3 separate regions of the Homo sapiens genome follow, and all the other regions are linked to region 1. The links are contacts of gene promoters, found by promoter capture Hi-C in blood cells and fetal thymus (Javierre and others, 2016). All regions are on one chromosome and are shown on one strand. Each heading gives the region's core, a stretch centred on a gene start or on the middle of the fragment in contact. The rest is flanking DNA. Distances are from core to core; before and after follow the strand shown.

The links. The method cuts DNA at HindIII sites, captures the fragments that hold promoters and counts their contacts. A CHiCAGO score of 5 or more calls a contact.
Region 2: a fragment that was not itself captured here is called in contact with the fragment with the promoter of RAB27B in region 1 in 1 of 17 cell types (megakaryocytes); the score reaches 12.0 in megakaryocytes.
Region 3: a fragment that was not itself captured here is called in contact with the fragment with the promoter of RAB27B in region 1 in 1 of 17 cell types (megakaryocytes); the score reaches 7.2 in megakaryocytes.

Annotation. Positions count from the first base shown.
Region 1 is chr18:54,826,685-54,830,645 of GRCh38, forward strand. RAB27B (RAB27B, member RAS oncogene family) reads left to right here and starts at 1,793. Exons shown (of 6, transcript NM_004163.4): 1 at 1,793-2,016. The HindIII fragment of the contact is 8,053 bases long and covers 1-3,961 here.
Region 2 is chr18:54,691,297-54,694,960 of GRCh38, forward strand. No RefSeq gene overlaps it. Among named protein-coding and RNA genes, the nearest start is that of DYNAP, 100 kb to the left of the region's middle. The HindIII fragment of the contact is 791 bases long and covers 1,511-2,301 here.
Region 3 is chr18:54,674,314-54,678,269 of GRCh38, forward strand. No RefSeq gene overlaps it. Among named protein-coding and RNA genes, the nearest start is that of DYNAP, 85 kb to the left of the region's middle. The HindIII fragment of the contact is 2,359 bases long and covers 343-2,701 here.

The sequences.
Region 1 (3,961 bases), core at 543-3,042:
GTGAGGTAGTACAACACAGTGACCACTGTGAGCTCGGCATTCAGGATCAATAGACCTGTCTTCCACCTTTTGAACTTCATCACTTTGGACAGATTTACTGCGACTTTCTCAACCTCAGTTACCTCATTCTGAAAATGGAGACAATAAATATAATAGACGCCTTGCCTATTTCACAGTAATGTTGTGAAAGCCAAATGAGATGAAACTCTATTGCATACAGGAAATAATAGCTATTAGGACTAATGTCAGTAGTGAACACATGAACTAGATAAAGAATATGGGTTATCATTGTATAGCACAGAGGGTGATTTTAAGTCAATGTGTTAACAGTGGAAAAGATTCAAGGCTCTTATGTTCTTTCTTTTATTTCTGTCTGGGCCCATGGACACACACTTCTTATATACTTAGATATTGCTGTTAAATGCAAAGTAGATTTATCATAAATATAGATTCCAAGCATACATACTTTGAAAATCTACAGGCTGAGCCTCAAAGACTTTTATGCAGTAGATCCAAAATAATTTTTAGGAACTGGATCTTACTTGGGGAGAATGGAATAGATTGTTACCAAAATTATAAGTATAGCCAACACATTCATAGAACTTACTGTGCCAGGCACGTTCTACACACATTACTGATATGAAGTCAATTCTTCACAATAACACTATGAAGACATTATTATTACTCTTCTTTTCAACTTTCAAGAACATTGAAGGACATAAAATAGAACTTCTTTAATAGTTTCATAATAGAATAGACAGATTTCTATGAGACCAAAATGTTTTCTCTAATATTCCATTTTTCCACTAGTTTGCTATTGTTTGTTTTGTGTTTTGGTTTGGGCTATTCCTTTGCTCCCTTCTACAAGAAATTCTCTGGGAGCTGATAACAGCAGTGCCTCCCAGATTGTCTCTAGGGCATCGAATAAGAAACAAGTTAAGTAATTAAAATTCAAGCAGTCATTGGCATCTCGTTGTTTACTAACATGAATGCAAGACACAGGTTTGGAACTTTTAAATTTTGTTCACAGAGGAGTAAATCGGTTGTTATTATAATGTACCTAACCTTGTATTCTTACCTTTACTACCAGTCTGTAAATTAGGGATGTCTGAATGTGTCTAAAATGGAATCCCAAGATGGGCAGCCAGGATCTTTGCTTTGTGGACGAATCTAATGTGTTTAGAACACGGCATAGCACATAGTAGGTGCTTAACAAATACTGGTTCAATGCCTCCGTGTGCTCATTATCTTACTTAGTGGTAACCTATTGATCTCTGAAGTGACTTTAGGAAGTGAATTAGGGCTTTGGGAAGTGAATTTGGATGTTGCATACTGATTAATGCATTCATACGAACACATCCTAACTTTTAAAATATTAATTTCTTTCCAACGCCCTCTTTTATTTCCCGAGGCCATCCTCTGCTCCCCACTCGCAATCCCTCGCCTTCACTCCTCATAGTTAATGAGACACCCCCTCGGAGGAGAGAACGCAATGTCAGGGCCCCAGTTCTCACAGCGCCCTGGGCTCTTTGAATGAGAGACATCAAAGAAAACACAGAACAAAAATGAATAAAAATGAGCTCGCTGGTAAGGCTAGAAGCCCCACAGTGTGGAGACTTCATCCCCGAGAGGAGTGTGTTTCTCACTGCAGCAGTTGAGTCACCAGCAAGACTTGCCTGAGGTGAGCTCCGCACATCCGCGTTGGGACTTGCAGACACGCCTTCTTCTCACACAAACCTTACCCAGCCCCGCCGCCGCGGCGGACTCCGAGGGTGGTGCCACCAGCCCTGCCACTCGCAGTCCTGACGGGCAGGGGCTGCGGACCGCCCGGCCTTGGACCCATCCGGAGCCACAGGTTGGAGGAGATAAGTAGCTGTCCCCGTGCTCATCGCCCTGTGGAGCAGATCCTGTCTCCTTGCTGACGGTGGAGCCCGGGAGTTCCAGGGCTTGGGAAGGGGAAGGAAACCTCTCTGAAATCTGACACCTGCTCTCCCGGCAAGGAAACTTCGCAGGCTGGTGAGTTGGGAAGGCGGGCTGCTGCTGCTGGAACGCGTTCCCACCCACCCGGGTGCTGCAGCGCCGGCCTGCGCCGTGGGAAGTGAGGCCTCTGTGTGTGTGTGTGTGCATGTGTGAGTGCGTGTGCACCTTCGATCGCGGTTTCCAGCAGAAATCCTTGCAAAGAAGACAGTAGTGCTGTGTGCTGCACGGATGGCATGGGCCAACTCGACCTGGCTCTCCTTGAGTGTTTGCTTATCAAACAGCTGGTTACCACCAAAAAAAGCAAAAAGAAAAACAAAAAGCCTAGGCACAGCAATGCCAATTTCCTTTCATTTGCATCTCAAAAAACAATCAAAATAATGAATAAGAAAAAGCATGGATGATGATGTGCTCAGAGTTTCATTCCAGGAGGAGCGACTTAGTGAGGCAAGCCAGGAGAGCAATAAGACATTTATATGCACTTCCTTAGATGAAATAGCCACAGAGACCTTAAGAGTACTTTCTGTTTTCCAATTTTTTGCTCTGTTACTTTCGAATTCTGATCTAAGTGTTGCACCAACTAGGGTATATGTGTGCATGTGTGTTCACCCAACTGATCACAATAAATTAGCTTTCAAGACTTTCCCACCCAATGCAACATTAATTAAGCCTCTGAAAACTACTGAAGTAGGTGAACTGTAAGCAGAGACTGCATTCCTAGGAAAAAGCTGTGTTTGGTTAGAGCCTTCACACCTGTATCATGTTTTGTGAGTTTTTTATGTCAAGATGTAAAGCTAAGGGTATGTAATTCCAGTTGTTTTAAACTGCACATCATTAAATTAAGCCCAAAGTAATAACATAAATTTCAAGGTTATTAACAACAAAATTATTGTTTAATATAATACAGCTCTGAATTTTGATTTTGTTCTGTTTATAAGAAAAATGTCTACAGTTCTCAATATTTAGTTATATTCACACATATTCATTCATATATAGAATATACAGGGTTTTATGGTTATAAATTTTGAAAAGTTGAGGGAAAGGATAGACTTAAGCATTAATATAAACTCAGATATTTAAGTTTAATGAATTTTCAAGCTGCTGTAAAGTCCATATTGCAGTGATGAAGAGAGAGACATACCTGTCATGTGCCATTGCCCCTCAAATAGTTATTTTTCATAGTTTCCTAGCATAATCCTCTACCCAGATGGGGTCAGCCATCCTTGAAGGCAAGAGGTGATTCCTACCAATGACCAAAAAGGGGTAATCTTGACAGATAGTTTAATATTAATGGAGCTTTTCTGTTTCAGAATTGACTATGGCCTCTCATACAGTGTTACTGTCATTGCTTTCGAAAGGAAAACAAAACATAGCAGATAAAACTGGATGAGCCTGTTCTCATAGTTGCCAAGAAGGGATAAAGGGAATCTGTTGAATGTAAGCAAACCACAGTTCCCCTTTCTCATAGGTCATTTCTGGAACAGGCATGTTTGACCCAATAGGGAAGGTAACCCTAATATAATTGATCTTCTTGGTAGAAGATCAGTTGGTATGCCAGTTTACACTACAACTGTATGTTGGTTTCAGAATTGCTGTTCATTTATTTCACTGTTTTTCTGGAAAAATGGAAGTTATCCAAATGTCCAGGTAGTTCAGAATAGAAACCTGCTCTTTTCCCACCCTCACTCCTGCAAATTTTTGGTTAGGTTTTTGGGCTCTCAGATCAGTACGGCATGAAATATAGAACAATTACTCATATAAAACTCATCTCACAATCCAGTTTCTTCAGTTGATTCATCAAGGCAGGTTGACCAATAGTTCAGCTCTTAAGCAAGTAATTGTAATGTTGAGATGCAAGGAAATGATTTCAATAAAAACAGACAGGACAAATCAGGTGTTTCCCATGAAGAATATGTCACTTTCTAAAGATGGCTGCCAAATGGGAATGATTTTTTTTTTAAATTCATTATTAGGTATATATGGG
Region 2 (3,664 bases), core at 656-3,155, 140 kb before region 1:
TCATGCATTTATATTATCTTGGGCTTCAGAACCAGCATACATTCTCATAAATAGGGTTCAGAGAAAGAGCAAGAATTTGCCCATTTGTCTACAACTAAATCCCTATAGGTTCAGACTGCCTTTCCAGCAACCCCAGGTGGCCTTCTATTCCATCGTTGGAGCTTATCAACCAGGACCATGACCTCCCTCAGGTGAAATTCCACCAGATCTATTATTTCACTTAGAGAAAAGGGGACAAGTCTCCTCTTAAAAAAAGAGCATTTGAGACTGAGAGGAAATTATTTGAATACAGGTGCAAAGTGGGAATATTTATGTTTGTGATGTTTGAAGACCAGTAGTCATTAGGTTTTGTGTAAAGGAATGTTATAAGCATTGGTTAGGAAAGTAGGTTCACACCATTTTTTAAAAGACCTTAGATGCCAGATTGTGACATTTAAAGTTTTAGCTCCCCAATAATGGGGAGCCACTGATGGTTAATGAGCAAAAGGAAACAACACAAAAAATGGGTACATTAAGAGGAAGTTGAAAATACATAGGGTAGATTGGAGGTTTAGGAGACTAAAGGAAAGAATAGTTAGGAGCTATTTCAATAGCAAATAAGTGGAAAAGTGTTTTTTTTTTAAAAAAGGAAGATAAATACAAGAAATATTATACATAGGAAATCAAGCAACTCAATATAATTTCTTTCCAAACCCTTAGGAGAATAATGTAACCCACTTTCTTCATTAAGACACTAAACATATTTAATCTTTTAACACTTTACAATCATAATTTAATACATTGAGTAGTAAAAAGAATTATTAAAAAAACTGACATAGAATGAATCAATTTTCCTAGTTTATTTCAGTGATTTTTAAGTACTGTTTATAGTCTTCACATTTTATTTAGTCAAAATAAAAACAGAACCAGATGATTATGTTCCCTATAGCTGAAGGCTTGGCAAATTGTCATACCGACAGGGTTGGTTTTCATATGGCTTAGATGTTTTTGAAGGATGGATAGGGTAAAATTTTACAATCTCTTTGAGCTCTATAAATCTGTGAAACTCTAAACAAAAATATCACGAAGTATTAGGAAGAAAAGAACGAAGAGAACAAGAAAAAAAACAACCTTGATTTCATTCAGTAAAGTTCATCTTTAGCATATTCCTTTTGCTAATGCAAGAAAATGAGGAAAAGGAAATTTATTTTTTAAAGAGAGAAAATAAAGAGCATTTAAAGTAAGATAGAGAATGAGCTTTCCAGTTTGTGCTGGCTAAATCCAATAACCATTTTCAATTTAACACTGAAGGCAGATTGTATCTTTTAAGTCCTGTTTTTGTATTCTGTACAGTGATGGGCATGTCTCTTTCTTTAGTTGTCAGGATAATGAATGCTAATCTGAAGATACTCTAAGCTATTATTTTTCCAATGCATTCACCTATGCCTTCTGTGTATGCCTATTCACTGTAGTTATCAGTCTTATAGTCAAGTGATGATGGATTTCATTTATAAATGTTGAAGTGGAATTAAGCTTTATAATGTTAGCTGGGAGTGATAAATCTCCTCCTGGTAATATCATGTCGTAAGAAAGCACTGACTTTCCTGATGAAATTTTATAGATGGTTAATGTTCTCATTTTCTGGTGTTTTTACCATTTTACTACATCTGACATTTTACTAATCTTTTATATTTGTATTGCTTTTCAAAGATTAGATAAGACAAAACATCATAGAACATCTTTGTCACCTTGGAGTCGACAGGTTTCTTAATCAGGGCACCAAAAGCATTAAGCATGAAAGAAAAAAAGATAAATGAATTACATTAAAATAAAAAAACTTCTCCAAACAATATCTTTAAAAAGTTAGGAAAAGCAACCCAAAAAATGAAAGCAGATTTTTATATATATATATATATGTTGATATGTTTATATATTGCTTATAATATATAGGTATATATAATATATAATATATATGTGTATGTATATATATATTTGAAAAAATATAAATAAAAACAAAAAACCCTGATAGAAACATGGACAAAAGACTTGAACAGATACTCCATAAAAGAGGATATTTAAATGTCCTTTAAATCTGTAAAAAGGTGCTCAACTTTATTAGTTATTTTTTTTAAATGCAAGCTAAACCACAGGATGCCATCAAGTAACCACCAAAACGGGCAAAGGAAAAAGGCAGATAATACCGAGTGTCAGCAAGAATGTAGAGTAAACTGAACTCCATCCACCACAAGTAGAAGTGGAAATTGACAAAAACCACTTTTGAAACATGCTTGGCAACATCTTTCTCAAGAAGAATACATGAAAAGCTTGTAGCCAGTAGGTCCACTTCTGGGTGTTTCCCTAGCAGAAACGTATACCTATGTTCACTCACCAAAAGACGTAGAAGAGTGATCAGTGCAGCTCTACCCAAATGACCATCAACAATAGAGTGGACAATACATTCTGGTATGCACATCTAGTAGAAAGCAATGAGACTGAAAAATCTGAAACTGCAATAATAGTGACTCAAAATCATAATATTGAGCAAAGGAGCCAGGTACAAAAAAATTACAGTATATGATTCCTTTTATATAAAATAACAACATAGGCAAAAATAATATTAGTTGTAGGTGTCAGGATAATGATTACCTCCCGTAGTGGGGAGGGGTGGAGAGTGTTTCTCTTTGGAAGGAAACAGGAGAAACCTTCTGGAGTGTCACTAGGGTGCCACAAATAAAGTATGAGAGTGAGTATCCCCATTCTCTTGTTACTTAAAAACATAATTAATCTCACTCTCTTGTTACTTAAAAATGTAATTAATCTTTTGAATTTTGGACAGTGTGATACACAAAACATGATTTTAGTTCATTTCAGTTAGAATGGCCCAGATTTATAATGAGGTTGAGCATCTTTTAATTTATCTTATTACCTCCTCTTTTGAAAATTTGCTGTTCATGTAATTTGACCATTTTTCTATTAGGTGACCTGTTTTTACTTTCTTTAATTTGATACTGTTCTGTATTAATTATGGAGGTCAATCTTTGCTCTGATTTATAGTTTTCATTTAAATTTGTATGTATTTAAAATTTTTATTTATCAATCTTACAGTTTCTGTGTTTAGTGTATTGCTTAGAAAAACTCTTTAGATTATAAAGATAATCCATTATAGTTTCTTTGTATTCATTTCTAGGTTTTTATTTACTTAATCTATTTGGATTTATTTTTGTGCCTGGTATGACATAGATATCTGATATCTTTTCCCTAAATGGATAGCCAATTGTACCCACACTATTCCTTAGTCTGTCATTTTTCTACTGATTTTAAATTCTACCTTTGTCATAAATAATATTTCCATATTATGTTTTCATATATATCTTTCTTTTCATGCTGAGTTGTTCCACTGTGAAATTTGTAGATTATGCATCAATGCCACACTTTTACAAGTTATTCTAGTTTTATGGTGTGGTTTGATATTTAATAGAGAATTAGCAAGGGAAAGCTAATTATTCTTTTCCAAATCAGCTTTTAATTCTCATAAAAATACTTTTGGTAATGTCATATTCATTGGCCTTATGTTTATAGATGAATTTAGTGAAACTTATCCCTATAATGTTAAATTCTTTCAATACAGGAAGTTAGTCTCTCTCTATTTCTCTCTCACTGTCTGTTTTAATTGGGTCTTCTTTTA
Region 3 (3,956 bases), core at 272-2,771, 150 kb before region 1:
AAATGTCCATGCAAATCTGTTCGTACTTCATATGTCATTCACCACATTCTAGTTATATTATACCACAGTATAATTACTTTTTAATATAGCATAGTGTTTAAGTCTGATTAAAAAACTTGGGCTCTGAATTCATAGATATTTGGGTTTGAATCTTTGCTCAGACACTTGCAGGTTATGTGACTTTGGACATGTTGCCTGACTTTGTCTCACCTGTAAAATGGGGATAAAGAGAGAATGTAGCCCTCAGAGTAGCTGTGGGAATTAATGAGAATTAAGCATCTAGCACAGAATAATTGCCCAATAAATATTAACTTTTATTATCTTCTCTCTAATTAACCTATAAGCTTTTTTTTTAAGAGCAAAACACATGTTTTATTCAACAGTGTACTAGTCTAGTAGCCCATGGCATAGTGTCTTACACAAAGTAAGCACTCAAAAGTAATTTTGAATGGATAAGAGAATGGCGAGGCCTCGAGATTATGAAACATGAAAAGGAGACAGGAAGAGAAGCTCATGAAGGAGCCTGTATTAGTCCATTCTCTCATTGCTGAAAGGAACTACCTGAGTCTGGGTAATTTATGAATCACTTGAACCCGGGAGGCAGAGGTTGCAGTGAACCAAGATTGTGCCATTGCAATCCAGCCTGGGTGAAAGAGTGAAACTCTGTCTCAAAAAAAAAAAGAAAAAAAAGAAAAGAAAAATAACTTGTCCAAGGTCACATTGTTATTAACAAGCAGAATTGAGCTTTGAGTGAAGTACTTGTTCTATGACACTCTCCATCCAACTAAACTTTGCCTTCCATATTTGTTGGCTTATTTTGTCCTGGGAAGGACTGTGTTTCTAGAGCACAGACTTTTCTCACCTTGTCTGAGTCCTTAACATCAGCCTAAGGGATGCTGTGTCACACAAGGCCTAACATGGTCAGTCAGATTACTCAAGGTCTAATTTGGACGGCTGCATGCTTAATCTATTCAATCCTGTGCTTAATAGGCCATTAAAAGGGCTGACAACACAGTCCCCAGAATGCCTTGGAAGATTCATTAGTCACACACAGGGGCTGCTTTTGTGCTTCACACAAACAAGGCCATCTGAGAAAGCAAAAGAGGATAACATTTTAAATCCTCTATTCCTACACTTCATTTTTTTGTTTGCTTTTACCTTTTGCTGATTTTCCCTTCGGACATAGGGAACTTTTTTCACATTCTTTAGATCCTAGGCTCTGCCCCAAATTTATCTCTGCCAGAATTCACCTAGGTATACATTCAAGGAAAGAACTAAAGTGAAATATGATGAGCAGTTTCTAAGTACTTTAACTGATATGGTGTATAACAAGTATTTTGAGAGAGATCTAAATTTAAAAAAATACACCTAGCATATTATGTTATGCTACTTCATTAAAAATTAGAGACAAAATTGAATTCCTATTTATACACGCATACTGTATCTCTCATACCAAAACTAAGACTTATAAAGATAAATATTAGTAAATGTTAATCCATGAAAGTCTTTCCATTTTCACATGGAAAAGACACAATAAACCAAAGTCAACAACAAACCGGGAAAAAAATATTTTCAACACATAGAAAAAAATTTTAAATATTGCTTACATATAATGAGTACTTACAAATTAATAAGATTTTTATAGGCACACACTAAGAAAGAGTAACAAAGGACATTGATGTGCTTGTCACAGAAGAAGTCTATGTAATGAATAAAAACAGAGGGTAAGATACTTGACCTCATAGTTAAATATATAGAAATTGAAATAAAAGTGATATATTTTTATTACTAGGTTTAGACAAATTTTCTGAAAATTAATGACTTTTTAAGAAGACATAACTATTTGGTATTTGTGACCCCACTAGAAAAGGAACATGCCTGTAAGAACACTTCCTGAAATATACACTAAAAAGTAAAGTATCAGCAGACTCTGCTACTAGCTTTGCTCATTGGATGTGGAGACATGAGCTCTCTTTCCCGCTATGTTTCTCCACCTTCCAGCTATTCCTAGAGAGTTGGCCATGAGCCTCAGTGGACACATGACCTAGGTCCTCAGGGGTTCCCAAAGGAAATTTGAGTTTTGAGGCATTTGAAAGAGGAAGAAATATCTCTTCCTCTGAATTTTTTTCCAAAGGAGATAAGTAGATATTTTAACAAAGGCATTTCAGTCAATGAAAGGTGGTGATTATGAGAGAGGTTCCAATGACAGTTCTGCCACTTATTATCTGAGTTACTCTGGGAAAGGGCCTTATTTCCTCTAAGTGTCAAATGTCCAAATGTTTTTTATACATTCTGAAAAAGTAGAGCAATCAAGAGTAATAAACCAGGTAATAAAACATACTATCAAGAACTAATAATTAAAACAGTGTGGTACTGGCAGACAGAGACCCATGCGAAAGCATATACAATCTAGAAAGAGATTCCCTCCCCTCAATATAAGAGTTCAGTAATAAAGATGGGATCTTATACCAATAAGCAAAATGTGAACTATACTTAATAAACAGCATCTCTATTTAACAGCAATCTGGGGAGGGGGGAAGCTGCATCCATACCTTATACCTTACACCAGGATAGGAGAGTTTAATTTTCTGAGTTGCCCAAAAGAAAAGATCCATAGTTACAGACACTAGGGGTTTTCTTTCTGATCATCTAATGGTAAAATCCACAGTCAACAGCCTCACCCTCTAAGCAATGTACAGAAAGCTTTTTTTTTTTTTTTTTGAGACAAAGTCTTGCTCTGTCTCCCAGGCTGGAGTGCAGTGGTCCATCTTGGCTGACTGAAACCTGCAACCTGCACCTCCCAGGTTCAAGTGATTCTCCTGCCTCACCCTCCCAAGTAACTGGGACTACTGGCATGCACCACATGCCCAACTAATTTTTTGTATTTTTAGTAGAGACAGAGTTTCACTATGTTGGCCATGCTGGTCTCAAACTCCTGACCTCAAGTGATCCACCCACCTTGGTATCCCAAAGTGCTGGGATTACAGGCATGAGCCACCGTACCTGGCCTCATACATTCTTTTAATCAAAAAATATAGGCCTGGTGTGGTGGCTCATGTCTGTAATCCCAGCACTCTGGGAGGCAGAGGCAGGCAGATCATGAGGTCAGGAGTTCGAGACCAGCCTGGCCGACATGGTGAAACCTCGACTATACTAAAAATACAAAAATTAGCCAGGCATGGTGGCACGTACCTGTAACCCCAGCTACTCGGTGGGCTGAGACAGGAGAATTGCTTGAACCTGGGAGGCGGAGGTCACAGTGAGCCAAGATTGCGCCACTGCACTCCAGCCTGGGTGACAGAGCGAAACTCGGTTAAAAAAAAAAAAAAAGAAATAGAAATATATACAACATTAACTATAAGTTTTATGAGGACAGGGCTCATGTCTGTTTTGCTGACTCACGTCTGTTAAATGTGTAGCAGAGGTCTTGAGATATGTGAGGCACTCTATGTCCTACTTGTTGAATGACTCCAGAGGCAAGAGGAAGAATTAATTGTGGCATTGTGAGAAGAGAAGACTGTCCATCTACTTTCTGGATTTAGAGGAAAACTGTATAGGAGATGATAGATGATAAAAGAGATAGAGGCTCATAGCAGAGCTGCGAGAAATGGAGAAAGACCCTCCGTAGAAAGATCATAACCTCTGCTTAACGCTTTGTGTCAAAGAACCCTGTCCTCTCAAAAGGAAAATGAGGGGAGATCCAAATCTGGGTAAATATAGACTGCATTTAGAAGGGATGAAGTAAATATTATCTGTATTGCAAGCAAATATTTCCTAAACATACTTAGCTTAGAAAAAAAAGCAGCAAGCAGCAACCAGGTGACAAATGAGTACTATGGTAGGTTTTTACATTTATGTTTATCTGTGTATATGTGTGTTTATATATACATGTAAATAATGAAAAACATATAGCAACCCTTTGCAGTGGTCTTCCCTGGAAAATGGCAGGATAATGA